2 separate regions of the Homo sapiens genome follow, and region 1 is linked to region 2. The links are contacts of gene promoters, found by promoter capture Hi-C in blood cells and fetal thymus (Javierre and others, 2016). All regions are on one chromosome and are shown on one strand. The core of a region is centred on a gene start or on the middle of the fragment in contact, and the rest is flanking DNA. Distances in the headings are between cores, read along the strand shown.

The links. The method cuts DNA at HindIII sites, captures the fragments that hold promoters and counts their contacts. A CHiCAGO score of 5 or more calls a contact.
Region 1: the fragment with the promoter of CAMTA1-DT here is called in contact with the fragment with the promoter of RCC2 in region 2 in 1 of 17 cell types (total CD8 T cells); the score reaches 10.1 in total CD8 T cells.

The regions. Positions count from the first base shown.
Region 1 is chr1:6,782,748-6,789,748 of GRCh38, reverse strand. It overlaps CAMTA1-DT (CAMTA1 divergent transcript), which reads left to right and starts at 4,769. Exons shown (of 3, transcript NR_149049.1): 1 at 4,769-5,091; 2 at 5,526-5,600; 3 at 5,704-5,857. It overlaps CAMTA1 (calmodulin binding transcription activator 1), which reads right to left and starts at 4,295. Exons shown (of 23, transcript NM_015215.4): 1 at 4,174-4,295. The coding sequence starts at 4,218. RefSeq lists silencers at 3,543-3,722, 3,733-4,002, 4,213-4,372, 4,713-5,122, 5,253-5,312 and 1 more and enhancers at 4,578-5,252, 5,253-5,929. The HindIII fragment of the contact is 4,377 bases long and covers 4,544-7,001 here.
Region 2 is chr1:17,435,207-17,441,869 of GRCh38, reverse strand. It overlaps RCC2 (regulator of chromosome condensation 2), which reads left to right and starts at 2,193. Exons shown (of 13, transcript NM_018715.4): 1 at 2,193-2,325; 2 at 3,348-3,640. The coding sequence starts at 3,356. It overlaps LOC124903862 (a long non-coding RNA gene), which reads left to right and starts at 327. Exons shown (of 2, transcript XR_007065508.1): 1 at 327-412; 2 at 817-1,734. RefSeq lists silencers at 1,954-2,093, 3,413-3,512. The HindIII fragment of the contact is 15,202 bases long and covers 1,409-6,663 here.

The DNA.
Region 1 (7,001 bases), core at 3,520-6,019, about 11 Mb after region 2:
CAAAGTCACATCACCCCCTACAGCTCCTTGTACATAACAGAAGCTCGGTAAAGGTCTCCTGAATGAATGACTCCAGTCATGGGAGTATAAATACAAAAACGACTTCTCCCCAGAAGGGCAAATTCAAAGGTTCCACAAAAGAGTCAACTGACACAACTATGAGGGGAACAGAAGAAAATAAGAGAATCACCTTCTACTGCTTTTTCCATAAGGAAAGGAGAAAGAAGTACAACTGCACACAAAGGGGTATTTCCCCCAAACAGGAAAGGAAGAATGGCTCAAAGTAATGAAACAGTGGGGAAAAAAACGTTAAGATTTTGAGATGGGCTACCTCAAAATCAGTCACAAAGAATTAAAAACCGAGCAGGACACATGGGCGGACATCCAGCATAAACAGGAGACTAAACTAAACACTACTCTCTAAAGAATAGGCTATTTCTGGGGGAAAGCCTAAAATCGCCAGAGCCTAAAAACTAAGGAAACAGAAAACACAGCTGAGCAGGATGCATAAATATGTCTCAAAGAGCAAGTAAGAGCAACACTACTCTTTTGAAAAGGAAAAGCTGACCCAATCTGACCTTGAGTAGAGGTTGCTCTGTGTATGTCAACACTTTGAATCCACTCAATGATGAGATGGAGAAACCCAACATTTGCAGAAGCAGGATAAGTAAGGTTTCCAAGAAGACAAAGGAGGAAGAGGTCACCCAACCTAGTCCCAAAAACTGGAGGTAAGGGGTGAAGGAGAGGAAAGAGTCATGTCCTAACAGAAAGTCGAACAGAAAGATTAAACTATGTGGTTCAGAGAACCCGTCTAGTCTGCCCAACTGCAACAGAGCATTCTGCACTACAAGGTAAAAGGAAAAAGCTAATTTCCAATCATCTGTGGCGACCAGTGACACAGAAACACAACCACATCAAACTCAAGAAAAAGGGCCCAGCTTCAGACAATAACCTCAAGTGTCTTCTTCCAACCAATCTTTACCACTTTTCCTTCCACTGCGCCTTGCACGGAGCCCCCTGCTTACCAGGGAAAACTCCCAAAGTCTCCATGGGGCCATGGAGGAAACGGTAGGAAGAACCACCACTGGAAACGGGATGACTCCGCTGAGTCTACACCATCTACAGCAGGTATTCGACTCTTCGTTTTTCCGAAGTTCCCTAATAACACCCCCTAAAAATACACAATCCCATCAAGCTGACTACAGACACAGAATACGAACAGCATAAAAACATTTAAAACCAAAAACAAGAAAATGAGCTCAAAAGCTCTACTTTCTGACATTGGGAATCAGGCCCACTGGACGACTCAATGCTAACTGAAAGGCAAAGTCCAGAAGTCACAGAACTAGCGCTGACCCAATCTCCGATGAGCCACTTCTCCTTACACAGTAAACTGAGGCAAAGCGAGCCTCTGAGCTAGAACAGTTTTAAAGGCCAAAGCCCCAGAGCCCAACGGAACTTGTTGGGGAGGATGAGTCTCCACACTAAGCCTGTCAAAGAGTAAGACTTCCCTGCTGAGTGACAGCGGCTAGCAGCCATTCTGAATTTCGTGAAAGAGGGAGAAAGGGAGGGAGGGAGGGAGGGAGGGAGACCTGAGGAGGCAAAGCACCTGACTAGAGCCGACAGGGCTCAAATCATTCCCCTGTCCAAGAGAAAAGAACTTGAAGAATAACGTTCCCCATCCTCTCATGAAGCGTCGAGGGCCTTTCCACAGGTACATTTTGCTAATTTCACAACCTCTCTCAATTATTTAAATGGCCAAAATACAAAAGGGACATATTTACGGTCATTCGTTCCTAGTTCTGTCACAGGAAAACATATTCTTCTCACCCATCTCCTGTCGTTTGTCCAAACACACGAAATCTCTTTCCCCTACACTGCAGTAAAGAAATCAAGAACTTTTCACTCTATGCAGAATCAAGCAACGAATACCACCCCTAAATTCAGACCGCCAAAGTTGCGATGCGTATGGGCAGGCACTGTACGCTTCGCACATTCAGGGACTTGGTGAACACGCAGGATGTCGTTCTGCTTATTCAGTACAGTACACATTACAAACCAAAGAATAGTCAGAATTGGCCATTTATCCGTGATTCTTCTGCTGCTGCTTCTAAGCCTGAAGAGTTACCAACAACGTTAATATCTATCTGTATCATTACACATAAAGGTCCCCATATGCACCCAAAATGTAGAGCTAGTCATCTGACCCTTCCAACTTCCTGTGCACTGTATATGTAATGAATGTGATTTCATCTGTGTATACCTACATGTATGTATATGTAAACAAATGAATATAGCATCATGATCTGGTTCTCCAAAGCAGAACCGGAACAGCAAAAAACAGAAAGCATTCAAATTCCCCCTTCTGAAAGCTACAAGATCTAAAGAAATGTCTGGATCCCACAAGAGACAACACCAGAGCCAAAGGAAGGTTCTAGTACAACAAGGAGCACACAAGCAACCTCTTCCAGGATGGCATGTGGGCGACACGGGTGTCTACACTCCCTTTTCTGAATGGAAAGGCATATGGCTTCTCCTTACCCAGCCAACATGAATACAATTTGAGAAAATTAGAAAAAGTCAAAGTAACAGGCTCACTAAATATGGCTGACTGCGAAGCAGAAGCCACAGAGGAGGATATGAGTTCTCTCAAAAAACAATCGGGAAGTTTATATCCAGGAAAGGTTCAAGGACTCTTGAGTGTGGGACGGACAAAGTCTGGTTCTCACTGCACAGAAGACAGTAATCAAAACATCAAAAAACAAGGCCACATGACCCTTTTCCCAGTGAGGTAGTGTCAACTGATGAAGGTTGCCCCCTCCTGAGACACAAGAGTCAAGTGGAGGCAAAAATATACCCCGGTCTTCCTCAGACACAGGAGCAACTAGTGTGGCCCCTTTTCACTCAAGCACTAGGCACAATGGAAGCCCTGCCCTACATCTTATTGGGGCGCCCACTCTCACCCAGACAAGGAACTCCGAGAAGAGAGAACAAGTCAGTGTAGACACACAAATGGCGAAAGGAGCACGGTGAACGTCCAGTTGTCTCCATAAGAAAAGGAGGGCAACTCAAAGGGTATTTAGGAAATGAGCTCGCCCTAACCCAGCAAAGTGTAAGAGTATGCATGATCTGGAAGAAGTGTCTGCTTTCCTATTTAGAAATGACTTCAGAGCTGCACAAGCCCCCACTATCCACTGGGTGAGGAAAGAAGAACATGGGCAGCCTGAGTCCCCTTGTCCTGGCAAAAAGGGTCAACGGAGAGTGTGCAGAGGCCCCAAAAGAATCCAAAGAAGATGAGCAGATCAGACGGACCCCTGTGCCAAGGAAGGATCGGGGTCACGGAAGGTAAAGGGCAAGGGAGTGTGGAGATCCTCACTTGCCATAGAAACGGAGACCCCACCCTCCTGGCTGTGAGGGTGCAAGGGCAAGAGTAGGATGTGAACGACTGCGAGGGGCGGGGATGCTGCGCAGGCCCCCTTCCCTTCCCGGGAAGCGAAGGGGGAGGGGTCACACGAGGCCCTTCGGCCGAGGGACGCTCGGCAGGACGGGGTCCCCCTGGCGGGGAGAAGCTCGGGGACCCCCCGCCCGCTCAGGGAGGTGTCCACGGGGCTGAAGAGGGTGCCGGAGAGAGTACATCTGGCCCTGCCCGCCGGAGAGCAGGGGGCCGGCGAGGGCTGAGCGCCGGCCGCTGCCGCCCGACGGGGACCGGCCCGGAGCAGTGGGGCGCGGGGCCAGGAGGACCCGAGGCGGATAAACTTTCCGCCCCGCGGCCCCCACCGTGGACCCAGCGCCGGGGGTGCGGGGGCCGCGCAGCGGGCTCGGGAGCGGCGGGGATGCCCGGTCCGGGTGGGGGAGGCGCCGGCCCTCCGCCGGCTCCTCCTCCTCGCTGGGCCCGGTCCCCGCCCCGCGAGCCCCCCGCCCCCTCCGGCCCCAGCCCGCCCCCGGGGGTGGGGTGTGGGGCGCCGCGCTCCGCCGGCCCCGCGAGTCACCTCAGGACTCGGCCGCGCTCCGCCCCCCCACCCCGCCGGCCCCCTCCCCGGCCGGGTCGCCCGCCCGCCCGCCCGCCGCGCCCCCGCGCTCCCGCCCGGCGCCGCCGATGCCCGGGATGTCCGGCGGGGCCGGGTCCCGCCGCCCGCCGCGCCGCCCCCCAGCCCCTCGCGCTCCGGCTCTTACCTTCCGGCTTGTTTTCGGCAGCCATTTCCCCTCCGCGCGCCACATCCTCCTCCTCCTCGCGACCGGGACCCCGAGCGCGCGCCTCGTACCGCCGCCGCCGCCGGCCCAGCCACCCCGCCGCCGCCGCGCACCCGCCCTGGCCCCGCCCCGCGGCCCACGCACAGCTCCCGTTGGGCCGTGCGGCTGCCACTCATCGCTCCCGCCGCCAATCGCCCCGCACCAGGGGTCTCACTACTCTCCGGGAGGAGCGTCCTATCCATCCGGCCCATTGGCTGGTCACCACCCAACGGACTGAAAGGATTGGTCAAGAATCAACGCCCCCTCCCCACCCACTCCCAGGAAAGCCCGCCTTCCGGACCTAAACAAAGCTTCCTAGTGGCCAGAACCCGAAAGAACTGTCCAATCAGGACGGGCCCGACACGGAATATTTCCTCGAGGCCGAGACGTGGCGTTTTGATTGGGCGTCACTACAGTGTTTCCCAGGCCGTCCAGACCAATCAAAGGGGGTTCCCGGAACTCGGGAGCGGCGAAGGGAAGCCCCGCCCCCGAGCGTGACCGTCATGAGGAAGGCGCTCCCTCATTGGCACGCTGGGGCTTTTCCCGCGTGCTCCCGGGGCTGAAGGACGTTCCCGGGGAAGCCGCTGCTGGCGCGTGGGGTCCCGGTGGCTGTGGGGGACGCGCCGGGATCTCCGGGATCCCGCAGCCCGCCGCCGCTGCCGGTGGGGAGCCGGACGCGGGGGGCCTCGGGGCTGAGGTCCGCAGGGGTGCCGCGCCCTGGAGTCCGACTGCCTAGGAGTCCGGGCGTCGCTGCCGGCCGTGGGGGAGGGGCGAGCCTCCCGCCAGGCCCCGCCCCCTCGGCGCCGCGTCCCCACGGCCCCGGCGCCGCCCGCCTGCGCCCGCCTCCTGTGCCCGCCCCCGGTGAGCTCCGTTGTCCCCTTTTCTGGCGGCTTAAAATACCGAAACTTTATTTTGGTCACGTTGCCCATGTGACCCGCGGAGCGGATGACTCATGGTTGCCTGTCCCAGGATGAGGCCGCCGGCCGAAAGCAGAGAAGCGCCAGCCCCGGCCGCCCGGGTGGAGCGCTGGGCAGCCGAGTTTCCCACCCTCCTCAATCCGGAGAGTCCGCGCGGGGCTTTTCCTAATAAATAGCCAGGCACCCGCTGCCCTCGCGCTGCGTACGGGAGCACGTGCCCCCCGGGAGGTGGGCGCCCGCCAGGTGCCCCGGGAACGAGCCTAGGAACCGGGTCCGCCGAGTGCGGCTCTCGGGGCGGCTAGGCGTGCGGGTGGCTGGGCAGCGCTCCCAGGGACCGGCCTCTCTCCGGAGAAAGTAAGGAATTCTGCTCCTGGGCAGGTAATACCGGAAACAAAAGGAGAGGCTGCAATCGCAAATTGTTTAAAAAGAAGAAAAAGGAAAGAAAAGTTGAATGTAAGAGCTCCAGCCCCTCAATGTGATCTTGTACGGTTTGCAGTAAGAACATTTCATTCTTCCGCATTTTATTTTTCCTTTTGCTACTGTTGGTGACAACTAGCAAAATAAGTGAAAAATCCTCGTTCAAGTGTTCTGGCATTAAGATTGACTGTCACACTGAATTCTGTGCCAATCCTAACAACATGTGTTCTTTTTCTGGTCTTCACAAGTAAGAATGTCTTAGGTTTTCCAGAAATAAAGATGTCCCAAAAGAATGTTTTGTGTTACACACTCATTCTTCAAGAAACTTTAATTTTATGAGCCTCAAAAATTGCAAAATTTTAACAACGGCGGGACAATATTTTATCGATTAGCATTCTTAATAGCACCTATGTTGACGATTTGTGTGGAGAAACGGATTCTTAAAAGAAGTGCTGGTGGCATTGTAAATTAGTATATTCCTTTCGAAAAGCAATTTTACAGTATGTATTAAAAGCCATAAAAATGTCTGCATCTTTTGACCCAGTGATCTTACTTCTGGGAATCTGTTCTAAGGAAATAACACTAAATGCCAGAAAAGCTGTATGTGTGAAGGTATTCTTCACAGGATCACTGTACTTAACTACAACAAAAAATTGGGAGCATCCTACATGTGCTAATATTGGGTATTTAGTAAATTGTGTTACATCTACACAGTGGAACATTATGGTAGTTGTAGACATCAGAAACAGAAAATCACCCATTGCTAGATAGAGGGGGCAATACCCAAAATTATGGTGTTCATTTATGAGGTGAGATGATAGGCTAAAAAAACTGCATTTTAAAAAAGACCGATACAGGCCGGGTGCAGTGGTTCACGCCTGTCAATCCTAGCACTTTGGGAGGCCAAGGTGGGCAGATCACTTGAAGCCAGGAGTTCGAGACCAGCCTGGCCAGCATGACAAAACCCCGTCTCCACTAAAAATATAAAAATTAGGTGGGCAAGGTGGCAGGCGCCTGAGGTCTCAGCTACTTGGAAGGCTGAGGCAAGAGAATTGCTTGAACCCAGCGGGCAGAGGTTGCAGTGAGCCAATATCGCACCACTGCACTCCAGCTTGGGTGACAAGAGCAAGACTCCACCTCAAAAAAAAAAAAAATAGACTGATAACATACACCAAATAAATGACGTATGGGGGATTATAAGTGAGTTTTTTTTAATTGCCTATTTTCTATAATATAGCTGTTTTTGTTGTTGTTTTTTGGTTTTTTTTTTGTTTTGTTTTTTTGAGATGGAGTTTCACTCTTGTTGTCCAGGCTGGAGTTCAATGGCGCAATCTCGGCTCACCGCAACCTCTGCCTCCCGGGTTCAAGCGATTCTCCTGCCTCAACCTCCAGAGTAGCTGGGATTACAGGCATGCGCCACCATGCTCAGCTAATTTT
Region 2 (6,663 bases), core at 944-3,443:
TTCAGCTTGCCTGTAGGTGCACCTCACTATGTAACATTTGTTACATAAGTGGCAGCATGACACGCCTAACTGATGAATGTCTGTTGCACACCCAATTCCAGCCGGGAGAGTCACGCAGGCTTTCCCTGGGAGAATAGTGGTGTGGAATTGAGGCATGGAGTTGCAAAAATTACTTTTGTCTTCTGACAAGTAGGGCCAGTTCCAGGGTGTTATACCCAAAGTGCTTTTCTACTGCAGCATAACCTCAAGAAAAACCAGTTTCAGGAGCACCACACCTAGGATCAGATGATGCAATATGATATTAGCGTCTCATTGCATCAGTGTGTCTGAGGCATGAGTCTTTTAAGCTGGCAAAAAGCATTATAAAGGGGCAGGAGAAAAAAGGAAAAGACTTGCAGACTGAAATCTAAAGGTACTGTCAGTGGTGTTCCTAATTGGCCACACAGGGTGTTTAGAGGATAAACACCCAGCCACCCGCCTCGGCTGACAAGCATCAGCATGCCATTTCCTGAAGGGGACTTGATGGCATATTTAGGCGAAATTCTTTTCTGGTTGGTTCTACTTATGCTTTATATCAAAGCGTCAAAGTTTAACCTCTAAAAAATCTTTTTAAATGCAGGTCTATTAAGAATAGGCTTTCAAAGGGTGCTTCTATTCCATCTTGACTTTTCTGAAAATCTCTGAAACGTACCAGTTGATTTCTCATTTCCAAAGTTCTTTTACATAAGCACTCTCAGCTCTCTTGACACACAGACTTTTGACTTTGATCAAATACCTTAGATTTGGGCCTCTTGGTTTCTCTGTCTTCCTTTACAGGACACTTGATGCTTCCCAGTCCTGTTTCTTGCACTAACAATGAATGAATGAATCACAAAAATCCTAGAACTTTATGCGTTTTCAAGAAGTTGCCTGAAGAAGGAACTTCCTTGTGCGGTACGCCTCAGGAAAAAAGAAGCAGGAGAAAAGCTTTGAGAGGAGAGCAAGTGACGGTGAGATCGTAATGGAAGTGGGGTGGAGAGGTGGAGGGTGGAGACCGGTAGGAAGCAAGCAAGGCTTTTTTCACCCGTCCCAGGACACGCGAACGAGATCAAGCCTCACTGCGGTTCACTAGGGTCTATGCAGGCCCTCGCACCCCTGCCTACCTCCTCAGAACCCAGCCTCTTGGCTCTTCTCACCCCAGCCCCACCAGACAGCTTCCCTCCCAGGAGGTGTCTCTCAAGATCTCGAAATGTGGAGCGTCCCGTTCACTCCACCTGGCCTGGAATACTTTTCCTGCCCCCTTTCATCGGGTCTTATTCATCCTTTAAGTTGTTCAGCATAACTTTCCACCTGAATGCCTTCCCTGGCCCTGGACTAGGATAAATCCCCTCGCCATAATGTTCCTACACAGGCATCACTTTGTAAAGCTTACCACTGTTGTAATTACTTGTTTACTGATCTGTCTTTCCGTTAGGCTGTGCGTTCCACTGGGGTGGAAACCTTGTTCACTGGCTCTGCAGCCCCGGGCACTGTGGGTCTTGCATGTACCGGGGGCTCAGTAAATATTTGGCAAAAAATGAAAAAGTTCCCCTCAAAGCCAGCTTCCAGTGCCTCCACGGCCCTCAAATTAATTATGAATTAATTCACTAATACAGCAAACCTTTATGTGATTCTTCCGTGTCACAGCACCTTGTTACATACTGAGGACACATCCACAGGCAAATAAAACTCAGCTTCTCTCTGCACAGGAAAAAATTATTCAAATTGTATTCATCTTTCATTCCAATCACTCAATTAGGGCACGTCCCTTGTTGGCTGCTGCGTGAGCGAAGTAACTATTTTCCAGCGAGTGTCCTCATGTGACCTGTCTAGACGTGCCCAGGAAAAACAATCCAACATCCTCCTAAGCCGCAAAGAAGTCCCTGACGCGCAGGCCGCACTGCGTGGAAGGCCCAAAGCGCGCTCGCGGGCCCGCGAAAGGCGCAGGAGCAGCGGAGCCGAGGCGGGCGGCGAGGCGCGCGGCGCGCGGCGCAGGCTCGGGTGGGCAGGGCAGGGCCAGGCCGGGCGGGGCGGGGGCGCCGGCAACGGGTCCGCCGGCCGGCAGGGGGCGCGCGCGCCCCGCGCCCCGCGCCTCCCGCCCCGCCGCGCGCTCGCTTGCCGCGCGGCCGCACATGTGTTTCTGTTTTGTGTTGTAGCATTTGTTCTGGAAGCTCGTATTTACATTTTAAGTGTATCTGGTGAGTGGGCTGGAGCCCTCGTCTGGGCCGGAAAAAAAAAAGCCCTCCGATCCGTCTTTTAGTTGCTTCTCTTCCTTTTTTCTCTCCGGTTTCTCATCACTCCAACCAGGTAGGGTCTGAAAATCGACAGTGATCAGTTTGTGGGGTCTGGGAAAGTTTTTTTTTTTTTCCTTTTTTTAAAGAGAAAAGGTTAAAAAAAAACCTGGGGGAGGGGGGCTGGGTGATTGAAGGAATAAAAAGAGGAAGGAAGGCGGATCCACGTGGTTTAATCGGAGACAGACAGAGATCCCATTGTTCAAAATCAATTAAAAAAAAAAAAAAAAGCAGACAGGGGAGAGCGCAGGGACGCCGGGGAGCTGGCGGCGGCCCTGGACACTTTGCAGTCGAATCGGAGACCGGCCGGGCCGCACGGCCGGCAAGGGGGCTGGGAGAGAGTTGGGCACCATTAAAGTTTTTATTTTTCGTGTCTGTGCGAGCAGGTGTTTGGGGCTGGGGTCCAGCTTTCTTCGGGCTCTTCCCCCGTCGCCGGGGGCAGTCCGCCGTAGGGATTCGGCTAACTAGAGCCCGAGGTCGGCACCCCTGAGCTGGGGCCGAACGGGGGTCCAGGGCTGATGCGGGGTGGGGGAGAGCGTTGCATTAAATGCCATGAGTGGGTTTGGGGGGAGACTGCGGAGACAAAAGCAGCAGGTGGGGTAGCCGGGGAGCAGGGGCTCCCTTACCACCCAGGTGCCAAGGGGGAATCCTGGAAGTGTCCCGAAGCCTTCTTTAATGAAAATCTAGGGGACTGGAGGCTGGTTTTACTTTCCCTTTACTTTTGGGGGGCGAGGTTGCAACTGTGATGCTTTGTGGGCAAACCTAACTTACGGATAGGCCGGGGGTCTCAATTCTCCCTCCAGGGGATTGCCTCTGGGGCTCCCGGCTGCCCTGCGGGATTCCCCGAAGGAGCCGCGCCGGGGCCAGGGAGGGGCGCGATTTCCTCTCCCAACTCGCCCCCTCTCCGCCCACCCTGCGGCCGCCACTTTGGGGAGGGCAGAGGAGGAAGTGGAGGCCGGGTGGCTCGTCTCCGCTCCCCTCCCCCCGCGCAGTTTATAACCCGTCCATTGTGCGCCGCTGCCCCGTGTCTCCCTCCAGCCGCGACCATGCCCAGGAAGAAGGCGGCGGCGGCGGCCTGGGAGGAGCCGAGCTCGGGCAACGGCACTGCCCGCGCCGGGCCCAGGAAACGCGGCGGCCCGGCGGGCAGGAAGCGCGAGCGGCCCGAGCGCTGCAGTAGCAGCAGCGGCGGCGGCAGCAGCGGCGACGAGGACGGCCTGGAGCTCGACGGGGCCCCCGGCGGGGGCAAGCGCGCGGCGCGGCCGGCGACAGCAGGCAAGGCGGGCGGCGCGGCCGTGGTCATCACCGAACCCGAGCACACCAAGGAGCGCGTCGTGAGTGAGGGTCAGGGTAGACGGGTGGGCGCAGGGCCGGGGCCGGCGGGCTCAGCGACGCGGCACGGCGCGCGTTCCAGCCGGGGGCCGCCTCGCGTCACGCTCCCTCCCGGCGGCCGGGCCGGCGCAGGCCGCGGGCTGAATCATTGCCTCCGCCTCCGCGCAACAAAAGGGCTCGGTACGGGGCGCGCGGCCCGCGGCCTACCCGACCCCGGGCACCGCGCGGGCGGTTGGCGGTTGGGGCGCGCGCCCGGGCCCGCGGCGGGGGAGGGGCGGCCGAAGCCCGCACGAGGGGGTCATGGCCCCGCCCCCACAGCTCCCTCTGCGCCCCTCCCCCCCCGCCCCGGGAAAGGGGACCTCGGTAAGTTCGCCCGGCCTGGAAGAGGGGGCGGCCAGCGGGCCCCACACGTCCGTGGCCGCCGCTGCGCCCGGGCGCCGCGGGGAGGGGGCGGCCGGCGCTCTGCGGGGAGCGGCCGTTTGCGCCGGGGCTTTGAGGTTCCCGCCGCCTCGGCTCCGGCGCCCGGGGGGGGCGGGGCCTGACGGCCGCCGCGCATGCTCCGCAGAGCCCTCCCCCGAGGTCGGGGAAGCCCCCCGGCTGAGCGGTGCTCGGGCTTTGTTTGCCGCCGGTGGTCCGAAGCTGCAGGATGCTCGCGAGGGCTCTGTTGTAGCCCCCCCAAGTGAAGAAGCATCTCCTAGGGTCCTGGGCGGGCTTCTGTTTTCTCAAATCTTAATTAAGGTCGTGGCTGACTCAAGTTAACGTTCCCGAAAAAGCCTGCAGAGCCGGAGATCTGAACCCGGCATCTGCCGCCACAGCATCTCCCCACCCCCACAGAACTTTCTTTAAGTTTGGTGTGGTGTGGGATATGTTTTTCAGAAGAGGGTCTAAGTTTTCACCAGATTCTCAGATAACCCCCAGAGAGCAAGAACTTCCACCTGGGGTGTAGAGCCTGACACCCGGAGAGGTTTTTTTCCTTCCATAAGTGCCCATCTCCTAAGGGTGTTTAAGGGTTAACAGCAGAGTGCTTTCCTCCAGAGAAGCGCAGGCAGTGTCTAATAACACATTTTCTACGTCCGTTTTATAGATAGGGAAACTGGGGCACAGAATTCGAGGGCCTTGTCCAAAGTCATGGATGGAACTGGATCTCCAAATGCTGTAACTCCTGATGTCCCTGCAAATTGCACATGGGAATATGCTTTGTAAAAGTGCCTTCTGGGTGAAAGGGTTAACATGTTAGGCAGTGGAGGAGAGCCCGTCAAAAGCTGTCAAAAGGTCTTGCCCGGGGTCTTGGATCAGGCTAGACTAGACAATGGCCAAAGTATTGAGAAACTGGAACACAGGAACTGTTTTCCTTTGACGTCTAGTCTGCTGTGCCAGACTCCAGACATTTGCCCTCCGAACACAGTATGTTAGGATGAAACTAAAAAGAAAGGCCAGGTGAGCTTCCGCGTCTCCTGTATCCTATTTTGAGTGAGTTTCCAAAAGCAAGATTGTGTTTAGACATCCAAGACTGCAGTTATCAGCTGTACAGCTCCAGACTGTTGGAACGCTGAATTTTGCCATCAGAGCAAAAGATCCTTACCCCATGCTGAGATTGACCCAAGGAGGTAGAGACAGGGAGTGTGTGAGGGACACTGGCTCTCCCTGGCCCACCTCTGTCTCCAGCTGTGCTGCTTGAAGCTGCTTTGTCAATGGAAATGGCACATTTGTTAGTCTTTTTTTTTTGAGGCAGAGTCTCCCTCTATGGCCAGGCTGGAGTGCAGTGGCACGATCTCAGCTCACTGCAACCTCCGCCTCTCAGGTTCAAGTGATTTTTGTGTGCTGATCAGCCTCTCGAGCAGCTGGGATTACAAGTGTGTTCCACCACACCCGAATAATTTTTGTACTTTTTGTAGAGGCTGGGTTTTACCATGTTGGCCAGGCTGGTCTCAAACTGCTGGCCTCAAGTGATCTGCCTGCCTCAGCCTCCTTCCAAAGTGCTGGGATGACAGGCGCGAGCCCTGTGTTGGGTTGCATGTTTGTAAGTCTTAATGTGAGTAAACAGCAGTCCATTGCAGCTTTTAAGTTCCTGTTTATACACATAAATACGTTATTATTTTACATATGTGTATAAGCAGGACTCTAAAAGCTACATCTTCCTTTCTCTATCCACTTAAAACCAACAGGGGCCCATGATGCCCATCCTTTGGGCTGTCGGTGCTGTTCTAGAATCAGAGCACCTGGGAGGCTGAGGGTTCAGCATATGATGCCCCTTTATGCCTCATGGAAAGTGCACACCCTACATTTAAGTTTTGCTTTTTTTTTTTTTTTTTTGAGCTGGAGTTTAGCTGTTGTTGCCCAGGTTGGAGTGCAATGTTGCGATCTCAGCTCACTGCAATCTCCGCCTCCCGGGTTCAAGCAATTCTTCTGCCTCAGCCTCCCGAGTAGCTGGGATTATAGACGCCCACCACCACACCTGGCTAATTTTTTGTATTTTTAGTAGAGACGGGGTTTCACCACGTTGGCCAGGCTGGTCTCGAACTCCTGATCTCAGGTGGTCCACCCACCTTGGCCTCCCAAAGTGCCCCACGTTTAAGTTTTGTTAGCATCTACTGAGTTTGGTCCATGTTCGGGGCTGGGTCCATGCAGCCCCATTGCCTTTCCATAGGCCTAGGGCAGCCCTCTGCCCCTTGTCCTGGGTTGGCCTCCTGCCCAGTCTCCCTGGCCCCAGGTTTCTGGTCTCTGTTTCTCTGTTGAGCAGTCCTAGGGACCCTGTGTGCTGCCACAGGCAGACAGCAGTCCTTGTTGCAGAAAGAACCTTTTTTACTGAGCATTTTGCATGCCTTGCCCCGCTCAGGGTTGCTAGGAGGAGGTCTGTGTGAAAGCAGCCGCCCAGGAAATGTCCAAAACCATATTGCCTTCAGTGACCCCAAAGCTGCAGGTGTCGGGCTTGTAGAAGATGAGCCAAATACTTACATTGTTGAGGGGCAGAATTGCCTTGAGTAAAAGATGTGCATTTTATAGAACATTCTTATGGCAGATGAGC